Linked DNA regions of Homo sapiens: all the other regions are linked to region 5. The links are contacts of gene promoters, found by promoter capture Hi-C in human tissues and cell types (Jung and others, 2019). All regions are on one chromosome and are shown on one strand. Each heading gives the region's core, a stretch centred on a gene start or on the middle of the fragment in contact. The rest is flanking DNA. Distances are from core to core; before and after follow the strand shown.

What was found. Contacts are between HindIII fragments. The study calls those that stand out against the background at their distance.
Region 1: a contact is called between the fragment with the promoter of LONP1 here and the fragment with the promoter of RANBP3 in region 5, in 1 of the 25 tissues and cell types used here (adrenal gland).
Region 2: a contact is called between a fragment that was not itself captured here and the fragment with the promoter of RANBP3 in region 5, in 1 of the 25 tissues and cell types used here (lymphoblastoid cells).
Region 3: a contact is called between the fragment with the promoter of KHSRP here and the fragment with the promoter of RANBP3 in region 5, in 2 of the 25 tissues and cell types used here (dorsolateral prefrontal cortex and stomach).
Region 4: the fragment with the promoter of HSD11B1L here is called in contact with the fragment with the promoter of RANBP3 in region 5 in 1 of the 25 tissues and cell types used here (dorsolateral prefrontal cortex).

Annotation. Positions count from the first base shown.
Region 1 is chr19:5,718,098-5,722,987 of GRCh38, reverse strand. It overlaps LONP1 (lon peptidase 1, mitochondrial), which reads left to right and starts at 2,842. Exons shown (of 18, transcript NM_004793.4): 1 at 2,842-3,284. The coding sequence starts at 2,856. It overlaps CATSPERD (catsper channel auxiliary subunit delta), which reads right to left and starts at 2,351. Exons shown (of 22, transcript NM_152784.4): 1 at 2,180-2,351. The coding sequence starts at 2,250. RefSeq lists enhancers at 2,593-2,692, 2,645-3,161, 4,195-4,710, 4,711-4,890 and silencers at 2,973-3,022, 3,153-3,232. The HindIII fragment of the contact is 49,943 bases long and covers 1-4,890 here.
Region 2 is chr19:6,284,882-6,289,937 of GRCh38, reverse strand. No RefSeq gene overlaps it. Among named protein-coding and RNA genes, the nearest start is that of MLLT1, 7.4 kb to the right of the region's middle. The HindIII fragment of the contact is 3,632 bases long and covers 933-4,564 here.
Region 3 is chr19:6,421,555-6,426,177 of GRCh38, reverse strand. It overlaps KHSRP (KH-type splicing regulatory protein), which reads left to right and starts at 1,367. Exons shown (of 19, transcript NM_001366299.1): 1 at 1,367-1,725; 2 at 3,742-3,838; 3 at 4,490-4,528. The coding sequence starts at 1,477. It overlaps SLC25A41 (solute carrier family 25 member 41), which reads left to right. Exons shown (of 7, transcript NM_173637.4): 7 at 1-141. RefSeq lists an enhancer at 940-1,059. The HindIII fragment of the contact is 26,210 bases long and covers 1-4,623 here.
Region 4 is chr19:5,677,367-5,682,406 of GRCh38, reverse strand. It overlaps HSD11B1L (hydroxysteroid 11-beta dehydrogenase 1 like), which reads right to left and starts at 1,380. Exons shown (of 8, transcript NM_198706.3): 1 at 1,136-1,380. It overlaps MICOS13 (mitochondrial contact site and cristae organizing system subunit 13), which reads left to right and starts at 1,891. Exons shown (of 4, transcript NM_205767.3): 1 at 1,891-1,949; 2 at 2,644-2,821; 3 at 3,011-3,062; 4 at 3,759-3,985. The coding sequence starts at 1,921. The coding sequence ends at 3,856. LOC107985320 (a long non-coding RNA gene) reads right to left here. Exons shown (of 3, transcript XR_007067107.1): 3 at 4,078-5,040. RefSeq lists a silencer at 1,203-1,412 and enhancers at 1,463-1,932, 1,943-2,042, 2,063-2,142, 2,173-2,282, 2,663-2,802. The HindIII fragment of the contact is 40,206 bases long and covers 1-5,040 here.
Region 5 is chr19:5,975,406-5,980,030 of GRCh38, reverse strand. RANBP3 (RAN binding protein 3) reads left to right here and starts at 1,891. Exons shown (of 17, transcript NM_007322.3): 1 at 1,891-1,970. The coding sequence starts at 1,949. RANBP3-DT (RANBP3 divergent transcript) reads right to left here and starts at 1,628. Exons shown (of 4, transcript NR_046376.1): 1 at 1,517-1,628. RefSeq lists silencers at 1,498-1,547, 1,598-1,767, 1,998-2,107. The HindIII fragment of the contact is 11,015 bases long and covers 1-4,625 here.

The DNA of each region.
Region 1 (4,890 bases), core at 1,593-4,092, 260 kb after region 5:
CTCGATCTCCTGACCTCGTGATCCGCCCGCCTCCACCTCCCAAAGTGCTGGGATTACAGGCGTGAGCCCCCGCGCCCGGCCAAGAATTTCTAAAGGCTCCTTCACAGACCCCAGCTGAGGAAAATTATGAAGTCCTGCAACAAGGTATTCGGGGCTCCTTAAGGGAGTGTGTGGTGACTGGAAGGATGGTATAGTTTACAGCAGAGGTGCTCAATCTTGAATATGCATCAGAATCACCGGGGTTGCGGGGGGGGGGGTCTTGATAAACCACCGTTTGCTGGGTCCCACTGCCAAGTCCCCGACTCAGTAGGTCCAGGGAACTGCATTTCTAACCAATTATAATAAATTCCAGGTGATCTTGATGCTGCTGGTCCAGGGACCATTCTTTGAGAGCCTGTGTGGGGAAATGAGAGAACTGGATATAACCCACATTTTCAGAACTCGAGACAAATCCTATTAGTAAATTTCACTGGAAAATGTTTCTCCCACTTACTAGGTATGTGTTGTTAGGCAAGTGTGTCTTTAACTTTCCTAAGTATGCTTTCGTATCTATAAAATAAGGGTGTTGGCCGGGCGCGGTGGCACACGCCTGTAAGCCCAGCACGTTGGGAGGCCGAGGCAAGTGAATCACGAGGTCAGGAGTTCGAGACCAACCTGGGCAACATGGTGGAACCCTGTCTCTACTAAAAACACAAAAAATTAGCTGCACGTGGTGGCAGGCGCCCATAATCCCAACTACTCTGGAGGCTGAGGCAGGAGAATTGCTTGAACTTGGGAGGCGGAGGTTGCAGTGAGCCGAGACCGTGACATTGTACTCCAGCCTGGGCGACGAGAACAAGACTCCATCTCAAAAAAATAAAATAAGGGTATGGCTGGGCATGGGTGGCTCATGCCTGTAATCCCAACACTTTGGGAGGCTGAGGCAGGAGGATCACTGGAGCCTAGGAGTTCAAGACCAGCCTGGGCAAAACAGTGAGACCCCATCTCTTTTTTTTTTTTTTTCCTTTGAGACAGAGTCTCCCTTTGTCACCCAGGCTGGAGTGCGATCTCAGCTCACTGCAACCTCCACCTCCTGAATTCAAGCGATTTTTCTGCCTCAGCCTCCCAAGTAGCTGGGATTACAGGCACCTGCCACCAAGCCTGGCTAATTTTTGTATTTTTAGTAGAGACGAGGTTTCATCATGTTGGCCAGGCTGGTCTGGAACTCTTGACCTCAAGTGAGTGATCTGCCCACCTCTACCTCTCAAAGTGTTGGGATTACAGGCGTGAGCCACTGCACCCAGCCAGTGAGACCCCATCTGTACAAAAAATAATAATAAATAAAATAAAATAAGGTTAAGGAATCATTATGAATCTTCCTGTAAACATCAAATGAGGCCATACACCCTAAGAATACAGCTCACAGGTCCCTACTGAATGTGACAGTTTAGTCCAGATGGGAGTTCCCTGAGGGCAGGAACGGAGTTTCAGCAACTGGTCCCCATGGCAGGTTGGAGTATGCACTAACCTAACATTTACTGAAATTTCAAAATGTGCTGGGTAAGGCTGGGCGCGGTGGCTCACGCCTGCAATCCCAGCACTTTGGGAGGCGGGGGTTGCAGTGAGCAGAGATCGCGCCACTGCACTCCACCCTGGGAAACAGAGCAAAAACTCCGGCTCCAAAAAGAAAAAGAAGTGGGAGGGCTAGGCCCGGCGTGGTGGCTCACGCCTGTAATCCCAGCACTTTGGGAGGCCGAGGCAGGCGGGTCACGAGGTCAGGAGATCGGGACCATCCTGGCTAATACGGTGAAACCCCCGTCTTTACTAAAAATACAAAAAAAAATTAGCCGGGCGTGGTGGCAGGCGCCTGTAGTCCCAGCTACTCAGGAGGCTGAGGCAGGAGAATGGCGTGAATCCGGGAGGCGGAGCTTGCAGTGAGCCGAGATCGCGCCACTGCACTGCAGCCTGGGCGACAGAGCGAGACTCCGTCTCAAAAAAAAAAAAAAAAAGAGGTAGGAGAGCTTAATATCGGGCTGGGAGGATGGGGTGGAGTAGGGTGAGCGAGGCGTCAAGTTCGATTCCTAAAAAGAGTAAAAGGGGAGCCTCAGTGAGGTTGGGGAGCAGGCCTCGGCTCCAAGATGAACCAGCACCCTCCCGACCCCCGGCAGCACCCCAGCCCCAGGAGTCCTGGCAGCCCCACCGACAGAGCTGAGCTGTGACCAGCGGTCGGAGCCACATGGTCACAGCCGCCACCAGCATCAACATCAGCATCGACTTGGGCTTCCGCCGCCACCACTGCCCCTCAACCGCCACGGGGAGTCGCTGCACAATCCGAGTACGTGCAGGCTGAAGCCCTGCGCATGCGCATCAATGAGTCCCGGGAGCGGGCCTCCGCGCACTGCAGCCCGGCGCTCCGCCTGAATCTTGAGCATGCGCAGACGAATCCCGGGAAGCCCGAATCCGCGCACCCCAAAGTGCGCTCAGAGCCTGAGTATGCGCACCCGGCCACCCGTGGCCAGTCTAGAGTCTGAGCATGCGCATGTTGTCCGCGCGCCTAAGCATGTGCACAGGCTGCTCATGAGTTCCTAAACGTTGCGTTTGCAACACTACCAGTGTTTTGTACGGGCGCTGGCGCCTGCTCACAGCCTTCCACGTGACCGGAAAAGGCCTTCAGCGCATAAAGTGGGAGACCGGAAGAGGCGGAGACGATCCGATGCTCGAACTCCGCCCCCTCTTCTCCGCGTAGGCCCAGCTCCCTGAAGCGGCTGTTTCGAGCCACGCGCCCATCGGGTACCGAGGCACGCGCCGGGCGTCACGTGCGTTTCGCGGCGAGCGGAAATGACGCGAGTTGTGTGAGCCGCCAGTATGGCCGGGCTATGGCGGCGAGCACTGGCTACGTGCGACTGTGGGGAGCGGCGCGGTGCTGGGTGCTGCGGCGGCCGATGCTGGCCGCCGCCGGGGGGCGGGTTCCCACTGCAGCAGGAGCGTGGTTGCTCCGAGGCCAGCGGACCTGCGACGCCTCTCCTCCTTGGGCACTGTGGGGCCGAGGCCCGGCAATTGGGGGCCAATGGCGGGGGTTTTGGGAAGCGAGCAGCCGCGGCGGAGGCGCATTCTCGGGGGGCGAGGACGCCTCCGAGGGCGGCGCGGAGGAAGGAGCCGGCGGCGCGGGGGGCAGCGCGGGCGCCGGGGAAGGCCCGGTCATAACGGCGCTCACGCCCATGACGATCCCCGATGTGTTTCCGCACCTGCCGCTCATCGCCATCACCCGCAACCCGGTGTTCCCGCGCTTTATCAAGATTATCGAGGTAATGGGAGTCCCCGCCTCGGCCTCAGGTTTCCCACCTGTGCAAGCAGCGGGCTGAACCGTGGGATCACTTGAGCGCCCTTGTGTTTCGCAACTTTTTCAGACATGAAGTTTCTCGAAGGGTGCAGTTCGAATCCTTGTCTGCTCACCACTAGCTTGGGAACCTTGAGCCAAAGTCCTCTCCCTTTCGGATTTCTTAGGATCCGTTAGATGAGAGGAGTTGAACCCGATGAGCCTAGGATTATCCACTTTAGAACGCCGGTCATAGAAATCCGGGGCCGGGAGGGACCTGAGTAGTGTTACGGCGCTGTTAGTTTTCTCCTTACTTGGCACGAGTTTTGTAATACCTCCTCGCCCCAGGCGCTCTGCCGTCTGGTTACGAGCCTCACTGGGATCAGAATTCATTCCTTTCTTAGACAAATACTTCTTGATTGCTTATTATTTGCCAGAGAGTGTTCTAGGTTCTGGGGATATGGCAGTGAACAAAACAGACAAAAATTTCTGCCTTTGAAGCTGGGCATGGTGGCGCGCGCTGTACTCCCAGCTACTCTGGCGGCTGAGGTGGAAGGATTGTTGGAAACCTGGAGTCCAGCCTGGTCAACATGGCGAGACCCTGTCTCTTAAAAAATAAATCTGCCTTGGAGCTTACATTTTGGCAGGATGAGACAGGCAATAAAGATGTTTAGTAACGATATTGTATTAGAAGGCAATAATTACGAGAAATAGTAGAGCATGGATGGGACAGGAGGCTTAGGAGGGTGGGAAGAGGTGGGTTATTCAGTGTGTTCTTGACCTCCTACCACGTAGCAAGTTCTGAGAATACTGTAGAGAACAAGTCATTCCGGTGGTAGAAATTAGATCATTTCAGACTAAGAGCCTTGGGGGTGGGGAGGGAGCAGGATGATGTAATAGAGAGAAAGCAGTGAGTGTAAGGAACTTGAGCTTTTACAGTAGGAAGGCCCCAAAAGCCTTCTCCCCCAGCTCCCCTTCCCTTAAAAAAAAAAACTACTGATGTGGAAAGTGGCATCTATGGGAAGGTTATCTCCTAACTGGCAGAGCAAGGTCACGCAGTGAGTCAGCCTCTGCGCTCACTCTCCAGACTCTTCTAAACAAATCTCAAGGATCTGTTGGGAAGGGAAAGGCCATTTCAGAGGGGCAGCAGCCAGTAGAGAGGGGACAGAGGGAGCTTCTCCAACGCTGCTCCAAGATTTTTTTTTTTTTTTTTTTGAGACCAAGTTGCACTCTGTCATCTAGGCTAAAGTGCAGTGGCGCGATTTCAGCTCACTGCAACCTCTGCCTCCCGGGTTCAAGTGATTCTCCTGCCTCAGCCCCCTGAGTAGCTGGGATTACAGGCGCCCGCCACCGTGGCTGGCTAATTTTTCTATTTTTAGAAGAGACAGGGTTTCACCATGTTGCCCACGCTCGTCTCGAACTCCTGACCTCAAGTGATTCACCCGCCTCAGCCTCCCAAAGTGCTGGGATTGCAGGTGCGAGTCACTGCGCCCGGCCCCAAGGCCTTTCCTTGATGTTGAGTACTGGTTACTGATGCAGGCCCCCAGAGCAAGACCTTGTGGGGTCCTATCCTAGCTCCATAACCTTCAGCAAGT
Region 2 (5,056 bases), core at 1,499-3,998, 310 kb before region 5:
GCAAGATGGTCTTGATCTCCTGACTTCATGATCCGCCCATCTCAGCCTCCCAAAGTTCTGGGATTACAGGTGTGAGCCACCACGCCTGGCCCCATTCTTTTGTCTCATCATTGAGGTCCCATTTAGGGTTCTTCAGTGGTACTGCTATTCTTCCAATCAGATAAGTCTCATCCCCTTCCCTGGCCCTATATAAGATATAAAGCTCATCCCCAAAATTCTGTGCCACTTTCAGGGTGGCCTGCTTTTCAGTGGTGGTCAGGGTTTGATTCAAAAGTAACATGAAGCCGGGTGCAGCTCATGGCTGTAATTCCAGCACTTTGGGATACCAAGGTGGGCAGATCACTTGAGGTCAAGAGTTTGAGACCAGCCTGGCCAATATGGTAAAACCCCATGTCTACTAAAAATATAAAAATTAGCCAGTGTGGTGGTGCATGCCTGTAGTCCCAGCTACTTGGGAGGCTGCGGCAGGAGAATCACTTGAACCTGGGAGGTGGAGGTTGCAGTGAGCCAAGAGAGTGCCACTGCACTCCAGCCTGGATGACAGAGTGAGACCCCATCTCAAACAAAAACAAAAACAAGAGTAACATGACATCTTTCCAGGAGAGCTCAAATACTTGGGTTAAGTTCTGGAAACTCTCTATATACCTGTGAGGGCCATCTGAAAACTTGCCAAGATCTCCCCTTAAATTTGCCTTAAGTTCTATAGAGAAAAGGAAAACTGAACTTCAATGGGACCATATTCACCAGGCATCTGTTTTTGGGCAGTTGAGACTGGGACCTGCCTTAAACAAGGATTACTATGCCGGGGCAAGCTTGAGAGAGAACCTGGATAGGGAGGAGTTGAGGGGATTGATTCCCCTGCTGGAGGTACCTCTGGGGTATGCTTCCCTATTTCTCTGGGATTACCCCTTGCAGCTTCTCCTGAGAAGGCCATTAGGACAGCTGAATCAATCCTACAATGTTGGCAAAGGTCCAGATTACCCTGCAAGGCAAAGAAGGCCTGCATGTATGGGACCTTGGACCATTTATTTGCCCTTGTGTTTACAGAAAAGCTTCCTTCCTGAGGCCATGCTTCTGTTCTGTGCCTCAAGGTGCCTTGCACCAAGATGGCAACCAAGGAAATGACAATAACATTTTTCCCACAAAATTATGTACAGATACCAAGGCACACTTTGCTCATCTGTGCTACTCTTAACCTTCCATTTTATACTTTTGATGACTAAGCCAAATGCTCATTCTATCCAGTAATTTCTCTGTTTTGCAGCAACATTCTTAACATTTAACATTGTAGGCTGGATGCGGTGGCTCATACCTGTAATCCCAGCCCTTTGGGAGGGCGAGGCAGGTGGATGACCTGAGGTCAGGTGTTCAAGACAAGCCTGCCCAACATGGTGAAACCCCATCTCTATTAAAATACAAAAATTAGCCAGGCATGGTGGTGCATGCCTGAAATCCCAACTACTTTGGAGGCAGATGTTGCAGTGAGATAAGATCACACCACTGCACTCCAGCCTGGGCGACAGAGCAAGGCTCTGTCTCAAACACACACACACACACACACACACACACACGCGTGCGCACAGAAATTTAATGTTGTATATAAAGAAGAGATAGGAGCTGGGTGCAGTGGCTCATGCCTGTAATCTCAACACTTTGGGAGGTCAAGGTGGGTGGATCACCTAAGGTCAGGAGTCAAGATCATGCCATGCCACTGCACTCCAGCCTGGGCGACAGAGCAAGACTCCATCTCAAAAAAAAAAAAAAAAAAGAAGAGATAAGAACCTTGACAACCATGAAAGAAAGAAAGATAGGAGACTGGAGGTCCTAGTGCCAACAACACCCTAATGGGCGCTTAGGGACTTGAGTTTCAGGAGTTAGTCCAGGGGCCTTTGGATAACACTGAGGCATAGCCTCAGCCAGATACCCTCAGTTGCCCCAGGACCTCCTTCTGGTCCCATGTAACAGGTAGACCTCATGGAAGGAAACGGGATTGAAACAAACCCAACATTCTCAACACTTGAGGATGATGAGGGATTGACAGTGTCCTCCCCAGCAAGGCTATCATCCATGTTTTAAGTCCAGCATCTCTGCTAGTTAATTTTAACTGGCTAATAGAGGCCTGGTGTTTTTCTTTCATTTTAGCTATTGTTGAGTTTAGGGACTCCTAAAAAGGGACAGAAAGAGCAGATCTGCTTTTACTCACCCTTTCACTCACCCTTCTGCAGATCCTGGACGAGCCCTCAAAAATGTTGCAGGATCCTTGGGGTGTTGATTTCTGGTTGGAAACCTCTGTGGCTGGTGGCACCTTTGCCTGAGTTTTGCTCGGGCCCACTGGGCTCATTCCACCCACACGGCCTGGCAGGCTGTGCTCAGCTCACACTACTAGCCTGGATCTCACACTTGCCAAGGGCAAGCCAGGCATGGAGGGGCGAGGGGTGTGTGAGCAAGCAAGCAAGCATGAGGTCCGGCCACTGCATGCAGCCAGGCACACCAGCTGCTGCAGCAGAGCAGACAGCTCCAGGTGCTGGCAGGGGCCCTGGCTCTCTGAGAGGCTGCGGCCAGACCAGGTGCACCATAAGCAGCTTCCACAGCTGCCACCAGGGAATGCAGTGGCACTCAGAAGCTTGGAGACTATAGGAAACACTGGGGTCCAAAGAGGGAGTCACAGCCCTGGCTCAGGGAGCTCCTAGGTCCCTGAAGGGCCACAGCTCTTCTCTCCTTCTCTTCACCCACAACATGGCAAGGCGCATGTTTCAGCCCTGTGGGTTTTATAGCTCTTTCAGCCCTGCTGTTTAGCAGTTCCTGAATTCTTGTCCTGTGCCCAAGAAGAATGAGGTATGTGGACAAGTGGAGGGTGAGCAAGGTGAACAGGAGCTTTATTGAGCGACAGAGTAGCTCAGAGGAGGCCTTGGATTGGGTAGCTCCTCTCTGCAGGCAGTCCATCCTGTCATTTTCTGTGGCTCTCAGTGAAGAGGAGGCCCTGGAGTGGGTAGCTTCTCTCTGCGGGCAGGTTGTCCCATTGCTTGCCCAGCTTTCAGCAGAGGGGAGGCCCTGGAGTGGGTAGCTCCTCTCTGCAAGCAGGTTGTGCCATCATTCCCTGCAGCTCTCAGCAGAAGGAGGCCCTGGGGTGAGTTGCTTCTCTCTGCAGGCAGGTCATCCCATGTTCATCCCAGCTCTTAGCAAAGAAGAGGCCTTAGAGTGAGTTGCTCCTCTCTGCAGCTGGTAGTCCCGACGTCTCTGCAGCTCTCAGCAGAGAGGAGGCCCTGGAGTTGGTAGCTGCTCTCTGAAGCTGGTCATCCCGATATCTGCCCAGCTTTGGCTGAGCCCAGGGCTTTTATGGGCCTCAGAGGGGAAAAAATGCATGCTGATTGGTCCATGAGCAGGCCTGGAAAAGGCATCACATGTTTCCACTCCAGTCCATGGGGCTGGTAGCCCAGCCCCTAGCCTTCAGGCCCTCCCTGGCCTGAAGGTGGGGCCTCACCAGGGACCCATCCCCTTCCATCCAGGAACCTGTCTACCTCCTGCTGCTGTTGATGGTGCCCAGGCTATAGGTGCCAAGGGGCGCATGCAGGTCAGCACTGAGCTGCCCTCAGCCCCCCCTTTGGCTTCCCTCCTATGCTCGTTGGTGCCCGAAGTCCAGATGGGGCTGAGGTAGCAGGGGGCTGGTGTGTCTGTGCTGCCCCAAGTTTGTGCACACCCTGCCTGGCTGCAACAGCTCTGGGGCTCAGCCCCAACTTTGCTTTGAGATGGAGTGGGCACCAACAGCAGGGAGAAGCCAAGCAGTGGAAGCAGACATTTCTGAGCCTGCAAGGGCAGGGGGAACCTTCCCGGGCCCCTAGGAGTGCAGGGACTCCTAATCTGCAGCTGCAGTTTGGACAGCTGCAGCTGCACCTGGGAGGGTGGGGCTCCTGCCTGCCTCTGGGCCTGAGAGCCCAGTAATGCCCAGGTCTGTAGCCATGGCTTTAGTGGCTGCAGCACCACCCAGGGAGCTCCCACCCCAATGCAGAAGGGGCGGGGCTCCCACTTGTCACCAGCTTCTGCCAGATCTATGGAACATGCAGTCCTGGCCATTCCTCTGTGCTGCAGCTAGTAAGATGGTGGTGGCCAGTCCAGATGGCCAGCCACTGCCATCAGTGCAATCATAGCCCACTGCAGCCTCAAACTCCTGCGCTCAAGCAATCCTCCTGTCTCAGCCTTCTAAGTAGCTGGGACTACAGGTGCACACCACTACACCCTATTTTCTTCCTTTCTAAGGTTGAATAAGCTTCTATTGCATGGATAAACCATGTTTAGTTTATCCGCTCATGTGTCAGTAGACATTCAGTTCCTTCCTCATTATTCTTTTTTTTTCTTTTTTTTTTGAGACAGAGTCTCACTCTGTCGCCCAGGCTGAAGTGCAGTGGTGCAATCTTGGCTCACTGCAAGCTCTGCCTCCCGGGTTCATGCCATTCCCCGGCCTCAGCCTCCTGAGTAGCTGGGACTACAGGCGCCCGCCACCACACCCGGCTAATTGTTTTTTTTTTGTTTGTTTGTTTGTTTGTTTTGTATTTTTAGTAGAGACGGGGTTTCACTGTGTTAGCCCGGATGGTCTCAATCTCCTAACCTCGTGATCCGCCCTCTTCAGCCTCCCAAAGGGCTGGGATTACAGGCGTGAGCCACCACACCCGGCCCTTCCCCATTATTCTTTTCGATGTTCAAAGTATTCCACCTCAGCCAGTGGGAGCCCAGGGGATGCAGTTTTGAAAATTCCCAACAATTTAGAACCTAAGTGAACAGTAATTTCCCAACTGAATAAGGGGGAGGGGATTGAGTTCCAGAAGCTCATATTTGTAGCAAGTGTAGACTAAAGGTTCTTTCCTGCAAGCTTTCTTCAAAGACAGATGCTGGCCAGGCATGGTAACTCATGCCTGTAATCTCAGCACTTTGGGAGGCTGAGGCAGGTGGATCACTTGAGCCCAGGAATTCAAGACCAGACTCAGAAACATAACAAGACTCTGTCTCCACAAAAAAAAGAAAATACAAAAATTAGCTGAGCATGGTGGTATGAGCCTTTATT
Region 3 (4,623 bases), core at 118-2,617, 450 kb before region 5:
ACTCCTGGGACTCCCTCCCCAGGGTGCAGCCTGAGACAAGAAACGTGGACTCCAGTCTGGCCCCTTGTGGGTCGTCCTGGCTCCAGGGCGAAATGGTGAACATGTCACACAACAAGGAATAAAGAGATGGTTTTTGCTGAACGTGTCTGGATACTTGGGCCTAGGAGTGGAACTGGGTGCATGAGATCCCTGGACCCAGTAGGGGAGCTGGGGACCTTGGGCCTCTGGGTCCTGAATGGGAATTTGTGTCCAGGAGAGGAAGTGAGGACCTAGGATAGGAGCTTGAGGCTTGGATCCCAGGGCCTTAGGCGAAGGGAGTGAGGGGTGTGAAGTGAGGGGTGTGATCGAGGCTGTGATCCCTCGATCCCGGTTGTTGGAACGGTTCTGGACTCGTGAGTGGGGCTGGTTCCTTGAGTCCTGCAAGAGAACTGGACGCTCTAGATGGGGGGTCGAGAGAGAAGAAGGCCCGGGGGATCCCGAGTTTCCTGCTTTCCGGCCTCCCCACCTCCGGAAGCGCTCGATCTCTAAGGCTTCAAGCGGGCCACGTGCCGGGCCTACCCAACCAGGCTGCCGGTGAGCTAACCCAGACATCAGGCCTGAGTTCGGGCAGCCGATTGCCACCGCCCACGTCGGCTGCCATTCACTACAGTTCCCGCTAATCCCCTCGCTGTCTGGTGGCCGACTCCGCCCCAATGCAGCGGCGCTTCCACTGGCTCCCACCAAAAGTGGGCGCTTTGATTTCCTTCATTCCCATTTGTCCAGACCAGTGTCAGTCACCGAACACCCACCCATGTCGCTCAGCCATTGGCTTAGAAGTCAGGGATAGAAAAGGATTCTGGTTAACAAGGGAAGCAATTAAAGTCCAAAGCCAACCTCATCACCCAGAACTCGTCAGGAATTGGATTAATTGGCTGCCCATCTTTACAAGCACCACCTCTCACGTGCATTCATTGGCTTGTGTCCACGACTATCAAACCTAACGCCCACCCAGCCGGTCCATAGGAGTCTTCCACTAGGCCCGGCCTTACAGTCCACGTGACTCTTCAGAACCGTCAATCTAATTCTGAAGCCGCCCCGCGAATCTGGCACTCGCGTTTCATTGGGCCTCCTGCCTTCTCAGATCTCCTTCATTTGCCCGCCCAGCACGGGCAGCTCGCAGCTATTGCCTCTGAGAGCTGTCAGTCACTCTGAGCCTCCCGCCCACTGCCCCTCATTGCACTCCGATTGGCCACCTCCTACAGAGCTCGCGATTGGTGTCCGGGGTGCGGCGGCTGCCTCCCATTGGCCCGCCGGAGTCGTCCGTCACGTCGGCGGCGGGAGGGGCGACTCTCTCCCCCCTCGTCGTCCTCCCAGCGGCTGGGTTCCCAGAGTGCTCCGCGGCCGTGTGGAGCGAGGCCTTGTTCCCGCGTTGAGCCGCCGCCGCCGCCGCCGCCTCCTCAGCTTCAGCCTCCGCGCCAGGCCCGGCCCCGCCGCGCCATGTCGGACTACAGCACGGGAGGACCCCCGCCCGGGCCGCCGCCGCCCGCCGGCGGGGGCGGGGGAGCCGGAGGCGCCGGGGGAGGCCCTCCGCCGGGCCCGCCAGGCGCGGGGGACCGGGGCGGCGGCGGTCCCGGCGGCGGCGGCCCGGGCGGGGGGTCGGCCGGGGGCCCCTCTCAGCCACCCGGCGGAGGCGGCCCGGGAATCCGCAAGGACGCTTTCGCCGACGCCGTGCAGCGGGCCCGCCAGGTGAGGAGGCCGAGGGCCTGAGGGGCGCGCTCGCGCGCGCGCGCAGGCGGGGGAGGGGGCGGGGGTCACGTGCGCGCGCGCGCGCAGGGTCGCGGAGGGGGGCCGGGGCCGTCGCGGGGTCACGTGGGCGGTAGGCGGGGGCCTGGCCCTCCCGCTGCGCCTCGAGTGGGATCCCAACGGGTGACCCCCCTGCAGGGAGTAGGGGCGCACTGGGGGTCACCAGGAGCGGCGCCTGGGTGTGCAGGCGCCCCGGAGCTCGGAGACGCACTTTTGGGACCCCCCCCTTAGCCCCCCGGCCTTAGGACATGCCTGGAGGCAGGGGTCCACCTTCCCGGGCGGAGGGCCTTTACTCTCCCCTCCATATCAGGGCAAAGGGCAGTGTTTGCCCCCAACCCAGTCCCATTTCTGTCCCCTCTCTAGGAGAAAGGGACATTGTGGGGGTGGGAGGGACAGTCCTTCCTCTTCAGTCGGGAAAGTGGATGGGGACCTGTCTAGGGCTGAGCACTTGGGCGAAATGGGGAAGACGAGCATGGGGACTGGCTCTTGGATGCTTTGGTGGCTTGAAAGCGTGGTCTGTCTCTTTGGGGGAAAGAAGGGAGGGTCTCCCACCCCCGTGTATTGAGGCGTAATGACAAGGAAGTGTCACATGCTGCTAGGACTGACCTCTCCAGCTCCATTTGCAGCCTCCCCATGGCCTGGAGGGGTGGGGGTCGGTAGAATGGGAGGACTTTGCCGCCGACCGGCTCCTGGGCTGTCCCAATGCCTCCGGGGCTAGAGACTGGCTCCTCCCAAGGTGGGAGGTCCCGTTAAGTGAACGCCTGTGTTCTGGCCCTCTGTCGTCTCTCTCACCCTTGGAGTTGGGTGGGTTCTAGCGTGCATTTGGTCTTATTGCCCATGGAACCGTCTGATTCTGGGACAGCTTGAAGGGAGGAAGCTGGTGCTGTCAGTTGGTGGGGACAGGCCCCCTGTGGGCATCCCATGAGTTTTGGCTCTAGGGCAGCGTAGAAAAATGGAGACTGGTGGAAAGGGAGATTCTTAACATGGTTTGGGTTTCTAAACCCCAGACTCTGATCCTAAGTTTGCTGGGTTGAGGTTTCTTTAAAGTTGCTCTTCACGTGTCTGAGATGTAACTTGTGTCCCATAGAGTCTTGGTTTTTTGTTTGTTTGTTTGTTTTTTGGAAACAGTCTCAATATCACCCAGGCAGGGGTGCAGTGGCACGATCTCAGCACACCACAGCCTCCACCTCTCCAGTTGAAGTGCTCCTCCTGCCTCAGCCTCCCGAGTAGCTGGGATTATAAGTGTGCACCACCACACCCAGCTAATTTTTGTATTTTTAGTAGAGATGGAGTTTGACCATGTCAGCCAGTCTGTCTCGAACTCCTGAGTTCAAGTGATCTGCCCGCCTCGGCCTCCCAAAATGCTGGGATTACAGGCATAAGTCACAGTGCCCAGCCATCCAGAGAGTCTTCTGTTTTGGTCAAATGAGGATTTCATATCCCTTGAAGTGATCGCTTTGCTCAAATTTATTCAATAAATTGATAAAAGGATTTTGAGAGTGGGGGAGATAGGGGAAAATTGAACTCTTCAGCATCCCAGGAAAACGGGGCTAAAAAAAAACACACTTTCTGGTTTTCTGAGCTGGGGCCACTGGCAGGAGGAAGTGTCTGAAAGCTCTTGGAGATGACCTGGGAACCCTCCCTGACACCTGAGCCTCTGTTCCTTGTCACCCCTAGAACGAAGTCAGTGTGGATTATGGGCTGGCCACAATTAAGACACAAATCCCAGGAGAAGGGAAGAGGGGAATTTTGATATTCCCAGTTAACTGGTGAGAACCTTGAGGCCTAGGTTCAAAACTCCTAGGATGTCTTAACCAACTGACTCTTCCCTAAGTTGGAGGGCCAGACACCAAGACCTGATGGGCTTTCGTGTCCAGGAGATGTTCTGAGAAGTTGACCTGGGTGCCATGGAGGGTTGTTTTTGGTGGTAATTCTTCTGTGCTTACTACTTTATTCTAGATTGCAGCCAAAATTGGAGGCGATGCTGCCACGACAGTGAATAACAGCACTCCTGATTTTGGTTTTGGGGGCCAAAAGAGACAGTTGGAAGATGGAGGTAACTCCCTGCTGCTGCCTTTAGCTTAGGAGGAAGGGCTGGGGGCCTAAAGAGGTGCTTTTGTTTGAGTGTGGTTCAGAGGGGGTGGGTGTCACTGTTGTTTGGTCTTTTAAAACCTCAGCAATCCCGGCCTTGTTAATTCTTCTTGTTCCGTCTGCCATCCTGAGGTATCAGGTGGCAGAGAGGAGGGCAGATTGATTGTGACTGGGTCGAAGTTGTAAGTTCCCAAGATGATTCCTCCCTTTCTGGGAGGCTGAGGCAACCTGGAGCAGTTACTGAGGCTTGATGTGAAGTTGGCCCAGCTCTGGGGTGCGTAGTGTGACCCCAAGTAGCGGATGATCAACCCTGACCAACTCCACTGTTATCCACGACACCCTCCCTGCTAGAGGCAGGTCCTGTCCTAAACCGGGAGGACTCAGGTGCCTGGTGGTGGTTGCGTGTTCTGAAGGCTTTTTTACTCTGAGCGTTGGTGGCGGAATTGGCGGGGTCTGGCCTCCCTCAGGGGCCAGTCTCTCCTGGGCTCCTGTCTCAGCTCCTGTTAAGGGTGGGGGCCGAGGGGCACTGTTTACCTTGGACATGTGGCACCAGCATCAGGTTCGAGGCGGCCGTGGGTGGGTGGGTGCTGCATCTGCCATCCTCTCTCTTTCCCAGATCAACCGGAGAGCAAGAAGCTGGCTTCCCAGGGAGACTGTAAGTCCAGGGGGTCTGGTGGCAGATATGTGGCTTCAGAGGGTTGAGGTTTTCAGGAGTCAGGAGCTGGAAGCACTGAGGAGGTGGCAGCTCTT
Region 4 (5,040 bases), core at 131-2,630, 300 kb after region 5:
TGTCACCTCCCTCCTAGACCCTACCCCGGGCCTGACCACCCCCATCTTTCCTTTGGCCTCCCTTCCATCTCCGATTTGGTCTCCCCCACCTCCACACTGGCTTCCCCATGTCCATACTCATTCTCTCCCTGCCTCTTCTGTCAATGCAGCCAAAGGCGTCTGTGTCAAAAGCAACATGGCCATGGCCCTTCCTGCTCCAAACCCTCTCAGGGGTCCCCACTGCAACTGATGGAAACCAGGCTCCTCACTGCACCCCATGAGGCCCTGCAGGTATAGCCCCTGACTACCTGTCTATCCTTCTCTCCCACGGCCCCATCTATGAATCGTTCAGTTCTCAAAATAATGAACTCCTCACCTTTCCCAGACACACCAGGCATGCCCACAGCAAGAAACGAGCTTCCACCTTTTCCCCTTCCAGGGACAGCCCATGAAGCTCCTCTGCTCATCCCTCTTTCCACCCCCAGCTCTACACTGACTGCAGCAGCCCGGCAGGGGGAAGTGGGACCAGATGGACTGACGGGTGGACGGATGGGTGGATGGATGAATGGATAGATGGACAGATGCATGTATGGATGCATAGATAGAAGGATGGATGGGTGGATGGCCAGATGAATAGATGGATGGGTGGATGGATGGATGATGGACGGAGAGATGTATGGGTGGATAGATGGATGAGTGGATGGATGTATGAATGGATAAATGGGAACACATAAATGGATGGATGGATGGATGGATGGATGGACGGACGGATGCATGGATGGATGGATGGATGGATGGATGGATGGACGGATAGATGAGTGGGTGGCCAGATAAATAGATGGATGGGTGGACAGATGGATGAGTGGAAGGATGGGGGGAGCAGATGGATGAATGGATGGGCGGACAGATGGATGAACGGAAGTGTGGATGGATAGATGGAAGGATAGATGGGTGGATGGCCAGATGGATAGACGGGTGGGGGACAGATGGATGGATGGGCAGATGAACGGTTGAAGCAGCCCGGCCGAAATGCGGGAGAAATGGGGGGAAGCCCTGCAGAACGCATCGGCCCCTTCTTGACCTCGGCGGGCCTTAGCTTCCCCTCTGAACAAAGCGGGCGTGTGACCCTCTGCGCACCCCTAAACCGTGCACTCACCCGCTCAGGCCTCAGTTTCCCCCACTGTCCAGCGGGGGTGGGGTCCCGGGCTGGGAGCCACGCGAACGCCCCCACGGTCCTCTCTTCTCGGCCGCCTCCTGCCGGGTCCCCGACCGCACCCCCTCCCGTAGGGCACGGGTCACGTGACTCGAAGCCCACCTCCTCCCGGGGAGGGGCCGGGCCTCGGGGACCCAGCGCCGGAGCGTCGCCGGGCAACAGTGCCCGCCTGGTCTTCGCCTCCCAGCAGGGGCCCGGCCCCGCCCACTGGGCGGACGCCCCGCCTCCGAATCGATCACGTGAGGGGGCCGCAGCGCTCGAACAATCCCGCCCTCTCGTTGCCGTGACAACCGCCTTGTAGGCACACTCTTCTTAAATCCGGGCCCTTGGTCCCCCGCGCGGGCGCGGGTGGATCTCTCGGGCTCTGACTTGTTTTCGGGTCACCTTCAGGCTTCAGCCAGGCACCTGACGCCTCTTTCCCCTCACGGTGCCAGGGCCGGGCCGAACTACATTTCCCAGGAGGCTCCGCGGCCAGGTGCAAACAGCGCCGTGCTGACTACATTTCCCAGACAGCCTTGCGGCGGCCCGGGCCTTAAAGCGTCCATTTCCCAGCGGCCCTCCGCTGCGAGACCGCAGCCCTTCTCTGGAGTCTCAGAGCCGCAAGACACCACGACTCCCAGAGGACCTTGCGTCGGGCAAGAAAGACTACACCTTCCAGAGGCCTCTGCGGCGCCGCGACAGGAAGCGGCGGGCGAGCCGAGTGTCCTTGCGCGTGGATCCGAGCGACCATGGTGGCCCGGGTGTGGTCGCTGATGAGGTGCGTGGGGGCGCCGGAGGGGACCCGAGTCCCCGAAAAAGTCCATTTTTGTGGGCATCCCTGTCTCCAGTCTGGTCCCGATCTGCTCTTCGCTTCCCTTAGAGTCACTTCCCCTTCGTTCCCCGCCTATGGGCCAGATAGGGAAACTGAGGCTTCAGAGGGGCGGGGCTTCCCGAGGTCGCCAATCCCCTCCCTCCTGCTTCCCAGCGAGCCCTTGGCGTTCAGTTCGCGGTGTCAGCCTCCGCCTCCGAGCCTCAGTTGTCTTCTCTGTGAGGTGGGAATGCCGGTGAATCCTGCCGCTGGCGTGGATGAGAAGTGAATGCGTGCTCGGAGCTGCGAGTGACAGCGGGCAGGAGGCGCCCAGGGACACTTGGTTTCTCCAGGGCTGGAAGGCTTCTAGAAGGTCAAGATCTTACGTCTTCACTGCCCCTGCTCACTGTGGGACTTTGAGTGACCCACTCTCCCCCTCTGGGTTTCAGTTCATCAGTTCAAGTGGCGTCCAGCCGCCCTGCCTTGCACGTTGTAAAACGAGTGCTGTATATAATAGGGGTCTGGGTCGACGGTGCTGCACTACAGAGTGTCACCCTGTGGACGGTGAGCCCTCAGGAGGGTCTCACTCTCCCCGTGGGCCTTGGCCCCTGAGGGTGGCTGTCAGTGTCCGCTGAGCTTCTGCTCCTCCCGTCCCTGCCCGCAGGTTCCTCATCAAGGGAAGTGTGGCTGGGGGCGCCGTCTACCTGGTGTACGACCAGGAGCTGCTGGGGCCCAGCGACAAGAGCCAGGCAGCCCTACAGAAGGCTGGGGAGGTGGTCCCCCCCGCCATGTACCAGTTCAGCCAGTACGTGTGTCAGCAGACAGGCCTGCAGATACCCCAGGTACTACGGGCCGGGAACGAGGCCAGGGTTTGGCGGGTGGTCAGCTCTGGGAGGTCCCTCCAGCCCTGCACGATGTTGTCCTCCATATTGATGCTGACCTGATTCTCCGGCCTGTCCTCCTCCCTCCGCCTCTGGGGATGGGCTGCTGAGCCTTTTCACCAGTTCTTTCTGCCCATCTCTTTTTCCCAGCTCCCAGCCCCTCCAAAGATTTACTTTCCCATCCGTGACTCCTGGAATGCAGGTAAGGCACCCAGTTTCTTTGCTTGGAGGGAGACACCCCAGTCTAGCCCCTCTCCCCACTTCCTGGCCATTCCTTTCTGTCCATCCTCCTTCCTGCCCGACACGTGTCTCTTAGGGATCTAAAAGGGAAAGGAGGCCGAGCACAGTGGCTCACGCCTGTAATCCCAGCACTTTGGGAGGCTGAGGTGGGCGGATCATCTGAAGTCAGGAGTTCGAGACCAGCCTGGGCAACATGGTGAAACCCCATCTCTACTAAAAATACAAAAATTAACCGTGCGTGGTGGTGCACACCTGTAATCCCAGCTGCTGCTTGAGAGGCTGAAGCAGGAGAATTGCTTGAACCCAGGAGGCAGAGGTTGCAGTGAGCCGAGGTTGCACCACTGCACTCCAGCCTGGGCGACAGGGCGAGACTCCATCTCAAAAAAATAAAATACAAAAATTAGCCTGGTATGGTGGCGCACTTGTAGTCCCAGCTACTTGGGAGGCTGAGGCAAGAGAATCGCTTGAACCCAGGAGGCGAAGGTTGCAGTGAGCCGAGATTGCACTACTGCACTCCAGCCTGGGAGACAGAGTGAGACTCCATCCCCGCCCCCCACCCACCCCCCACCGCCCAAAACAAACTCTAGAGTTTCCCAGGGGTTGGAGGCTGGGTGAGGCTGGGAGGGGAGTATCACCAGTGGCCGTCCCTTTCCCACAGGCATCATGACGGTGATGTCAGCTCTGTCGGTGGCCCCCTCCAAGGCCCGCGAGTACTCCAAGGAGGGCTGGGAGTATGTGAAGGCGCGCACCAAGTAGCGAGTCAGCAGGGGCCGCCTGCCCCGGCCAGAACGGGCAGGGCTGCCACTGACCTGAAGACTCCGGACTGGGACCCCACTCCGAGGGCAGCTCCCGGCCTTGCCGGCCCAATAAAGGACTTCAGAAGTGTTCCCTGACCCGTGTGCTGGCCCCAGGGAGCACAGGGTTGGCCTGGTGGTGCCCAGAGCACCGAGGCCTGGGCTTCTGGCTCCTGATGGCTTGTCAGGGCTTGACCTTGACCACAGGCCATAGCACTCCCCTTTGCCGTCTGCTCTGGTGCGGGGAGTCAGAGGTCAGAGCGGCTGCTCCCGGTGCTCCAGAGGCTGTGCTCTGGGGCCAGGAAAGTGCTTTGGCCAAGCCTGGGTTGTGGAGGGTCTTGGTTTTGGAGGGCTGAGACCAGGGTAGGACAGTGGAAGAGCCAGAGTGGATAGAAGTGGGGTCTGCTTCCCTGCGGGACACAGGGCAGGAGCCCCCAGGGCCACTGGTTCCTGCCCTCCTCAGCTCCTGTCCGCAGTCCTGTCCCGGCCCTTCCTTGGCCGGACTCCACCCTCATTCCACCCTCTCCCGACAACCCTAGCAGGGGAATCCTGGTCATTGAAGGAAATCCAGGTGTTTGTTGCCATTCAGAGGGTCTCCCGGACATTGCCTCTCCCCTGGGACGCCTTCCCTGACACCCCTGCCGCACACTGGCCAGGCTACCTGGCAGCCTGCATGGTTCCCCCGCATCAGGCATGAGCCCTGGGAGGCTCCCAGCACCCAGCCACAGAGGGCGATCCACGGGGTTGGGTGATGGCAAGAGGCCTGTGCCCAGAAACCAGTCTGGTGGCTCCAGACACATGGGGGTGGTGGGGAGCTTGGGTGGGGCCAGAGGCCTCCGTAGGATGCTGCCCTGGGAGCAGGGAGCAGACAGGTGATGCTCACCGAGCTGGGACAGGGTCCCCGTTCCCATGAGTTCAGGGGTTTATGTTGCTTGGTATAGGGAACTGAGCTTAGGAGGGGACAGCTGTTACAGAGGAGAGGAGCAGAGACTAGAGGCCGGGGCATCTCCCCCACTGTCCCACTCAGAGAGGAGAAGCCACTGGCCTGAGCAGGGCGTAGGAGGGGTGTGGCTGGGAGCAGCGGCCTAGTCTGGTAGAAGGGGAGTCCACAGGGCCTGCCCACCCCATTCCCCCCAGGAGCGTGGT
Region 5 (4,625 bases), core at 642-3,141:
TAGTGAGTCGAAATTGTACCACTGCACTCCAGCGTGGGCAACAGAGTTAGATTCCAAAATAAATAAAAGAAAGGGAAGGGAAGGAAAGGGAGGGAGGGAACAAGGGGAGGGAGGGAGGAACCATTTTTAGCTCATAGACTATATCTGGCCCACAGATTGTAGTACTCCTCGCTCTCTTTTAGATCATACTCAAAAAGGTGCAGAGCTGGGACTCCAACCTAGGTAAGACCTGAAACACAAGGTCCCAGGCAGAGAGACGACCAAGTGCAAAGACCCTTAGGTTGGAATGAGCTTGTGCTCCAAGGATGGAAAGACCCACGCGGCTGAACAGCAATGAGCAAGGGGGAACAAAGCAGGGCATGGGAGCCAAGTTCAGGGGACTTCATAAACCTGAATACAAGGTTTAGGATATTCCAAGTTCAGCTGAGAGCCCTCTGGAAGCACTGAGTGGCCTTGATATTTCCATTTTCAGTCTATGTGTATATATATATATATACACACACACACATATATATGCACACGTGTATGTATATATCTGTGTGTATATATATAGATAAAAACAAAGTATATATGTGTATATATATGGGGGAGGTTCTTGCTGTGTCCCTAGGATGGTGGCAGTGGCACTGTCACAGCTCACTGCAGCCTCAACCTCCTGGGCTCAAGTGATCCTCCTGCCTCAGCCTCCCAAGTAGCTGGGACCACAGGCTTGCACCACCACATCCGGGTAATTTTTGTGTTTTTGTAGAGATGGGGTCTTGCTCTGTTGCCTAGGCTGGTTTTGAACTGAGCTCAAGCGATCCTCCCACCTTGGCCTCCCGCAGTGCTGGGATTCCAGGGGTGAGCTACCGCGTCTGGCTGATTATATTTTTCAAAGACTCCTCAGCCTGCGGCCATGTGCAGAACCAAGCCTGGGGCTTCAAAAGAATGCAGCAAAGGATAGCAGAGAGGCCGCTGTCCAAGTCTTCCATGAGATAGATACGGACGATGTGGCCTAGGGTGGTGACAGCCTGGGGGTGACAATGGGTGGCTCTGGGCTGTATTTTGGAGGCAAGGCCAAGTCCGAAGGATTTGCTGAGAGATTCATAGCAGGTGAGTAGAGAACAACTCCAGGGTGTCCAGGACCCTCCCATGAGCCTTGTGAGTGAGGCTGATGGTCCCATTTTACAGATGGGTAACCTGGAGGCGCGCGGTTCCCCTCCCATGAGCTTGTGAAGTTGATTCTCGTAGCTCCGAGGGGTCGAGTCCCTCGCGCCGGCTCCCCCCGCCCCCAACGCCAGCACCTGGGTCCCAGGGCTGCGCCCCCTCCTAGAGCCTGACCACGACCCCCGCCCCCGCCGATGAGCTCTGATTTACCCCCCAATCCCAAGCACCCCGCGCCCTCTCGCCACTTCCCCCGTGGTTTCAGGAAAGCGTTTGCCGAAGGTACCGGCTCCTAAGGCGGGTAAACTGAGGTAGGAGGCAACGCGTCTCCCGCCCGCGCGTGTGGGAAGCCCCCGCAGGCCCGGCGATTTACCTGGAGGAAGGCCTCGGCTGCGGCGCCCTGAACTGCTCACTGTCCCACCGCGGGGGAACCCCGGAAAACGAGTGGGAAAACGAGTGCTTCAAGACCCGCCTCGGGCCGCGCGGTGCCGCCTCACTAAACCTTAGTCGCTGCCACTGCGCATGCGCCCTTCCCGGCCCTTTCCCCGCCCTCTCAGTCGGCGGGAAAAGGAGGCGGGAGATGGCTCGTGCGCAGGTGCGTGCTAGGAGCGCGGCTCGTCAGGGCAGGCTGCTCTGCAGGGCAGGCGATCCGGGGCTCGCCTCCGCGCGGCATTCAGCGCGCAGGCGCGAGCTGGCCGCCTCACACGGAGTCGGCTTGTTAAGTGCGCACGCGCGGGAGTTTCTGGCAGAAAGCAGGCGAGCCTGGGCCGGCGCGGGGCCTTGTGGGAGGGCTTAAGGAAGTAAAATGGCGGACCTGGCGAACGAAGGTAGGGGAGGCGCCGTTGGGGACCGGCTGGCGGCCGGGGAACGGGCGGCGGGAGGACTAGGGGCCACAAGCCCTTGGGGGGAGCACCGCAGAGTGCAAGGGTTTCGTCCGCTCCAGGCTAGCGCCGTGGCGGGCCTTGCAGCCGCCCCCTATTGCGTCCCCTCAGGCCGGGCTCACCGGCCCGGCCCATCACTCCCGGCAACCCCAGCCACTGCAGCCGTCTGGCTAGAGGAGCCGGGTGGCCATCGGGATCGCAGCCCTAAGGCCCCTCTGCGTCGCAGCCAAGCTCGGGGCTGAAGGGGGCGGGAGGCGCGGCCCCAGTGCTTCGGCCACGGATGTAAATAGACCTTAGGGCCTGGTTGTGGCCCGGAGCGCGCCACGCTCCCTCCCCGCCCCCTCGTCCTCCGCCACCCGGCATCTCCCCTTCCCCGGCCTGGCTGCCTATCTCCTAAGCCCGTGAGGCCCTCGTCCTCCGCGGGCCAGCCGCACACCGCGGACGGAGGAAGCCCAGGCCGTTTTCACCCCGTCCCCGCCCCGAACTTCGGCCCCCACTTCCCGCCAGTTCCCCCCGGATCCTTCGGGGCGCTTCGTCTCCCCCTCATTTAGGCCCCGCCGCAGGATCTGGGCCGCCGAAAACCCTGGCTGCTCTTTGGCCCTTTTTGCTGCACTTCCAGACAAGAGACCGTGCGAGTCCCTCCTCTGTGGAGCGCTGACAGCCCACCTGAGTGTTTTTGACAAGGTTACACTTCCAGATCCCCCGAGAAGGCACCATAAGGCTGATGTCTGCTTCCATCCATAGTCGTGTTGCCATCGCTGTAGCTTCAAGACTTCTGAGGCCTATTTTTAGCTCCCCCCCTTTTCTAGTTGCACAAATGCAGGCAAGCTCTCTACCTGTCTGGCTCTGATTCCCCCATTCGGTGCTCCCTGTGACTGGAGGGTTTTCCCTACCGAATTGCAGTAATGAATGAATGATGATAGGAAGTGCTTGGTCTTGTGGAGCATTTAGGGTAGTTACCAGGTGTGGTGCAAAGTCTTGACATACTGTTTTCCCTGGTAGGAGGTATAGATACTGTTAGCCCCATTCACTTGATGAGGAGACTGAGTCAACGTGGTTAAGTCGCTTATCCAAGGCGTGTCACACAGCTGGGAAGGAGCAGGGATGTGAACCAAGATGGCCTGGCTTCAGATGCCAGACCACGGGTGCTCAGTCCCTGCAGATTCTGATTCTGTGTGGTGTTGGGCGGGCGCTGGGCATCTGTACAGGCAGCAGCACAGGTTCTCTCCCTGATTCTTGGCCATTTTATTCTATTTTATTTTTTGGGACGGAGTCTAGCTCTGTAGCCAGGCTGGAGTGCAGTGGCGCCATCTCGGCTCACTGCAATCTCCGCCTCCCGGGTTCAGGTGATTCTCCTGCCTCAGCCTCCCGAGTAGCTGGGATTACAGGCGCGCACCACCACACCCAGCTAATTTTTGTGTTTTTAGTACAGACGGGGTTTCACCATGTTGGCCAGGATGGTCTCCATCTCCTGACCTCGTGATCTGCCCGCCTCGGCCTCCCAAAGTGCTGGGATTACAGGCGTGAGCCACCGCACCCGGCTGCTACATCTCTTTTTTTAAGATAAAGGAGCCCATGGAGGGTTGCAGCATTCCAACTCATGAGATCTAGTTACAGAGGGACTGGGTAAGTGGGAATCAGTATGACATATTTTATGTATTTACATCCTGAGCCCACATAGCTTCTTGAACTCAGGACTCATGTCCAGCATCACATTTCGACATCTCCATTTGGATGTGTCATAGGTAAGTCTAGAGCGTTTCCAAAACAAAATCCTTATCTCCCCCACTACACCTGCCCATCCCATGGTCTTTCACCCATTGTAGTTAGTTAGGCAGGTCCATTCTTTGAATTCTTCTGGCCCCAAACCTTGAAGTCACCCCTGGTTTCCCTCTTTCTCATACTGCACAGCAAATACTATCATTTCTACCTTAAAATTATTCCCAAAGGGGGACCACCACTTCTCCCCACCAACACCGTCAATGCTTAGCCCCCGTTCCCTCCACCCTTACCCATCTGAGAACTTCTCAGCCCATAGTGGGCCCCAATATGTCCCTGTCCTTCTCTCTCGCCACTCTCTGCTGCCTTGCTCTGTGCTAACTACTCTGGCTTTTTCAGTTTTCCTTGAATGTTGCATACACTCCCCGCTTTTAGCCTTTTCTCCTGCTGATTCCTCTAACTGAAACAGTTTTCCCCCAGATACCCCCATGGCTCACTTCTTCTGGTTTTTACTCATATATGTTACTTTATTAATGAGAGCTTCTCTGGCCACCTATTTCAAATTAAATCCATGTTCTCTATTCCGTTCACCCTGCTTGATTTTCCTGTATAGCTCTTAACAATCCGGCATGCTAGATATTACATGCATGTTTGCCCCATGTAAGCTCCATGAGGTCAGGGATTTTTATGTTATGATCACTGATTGCCCCCTTGCATCTAGAACGGTGCCTGGCACAGAGTAGGTACACAGGAAATATTGGTTGAATGAATGAATGCATGAATGAATGAATTCACCAGTGAGGACCCTGTTGTGAGGAATACATTTGAGCACAAAGGGGAAATTATGGCTTGCCCTTTTCCAGGGGATACTGTTTCTAGCAT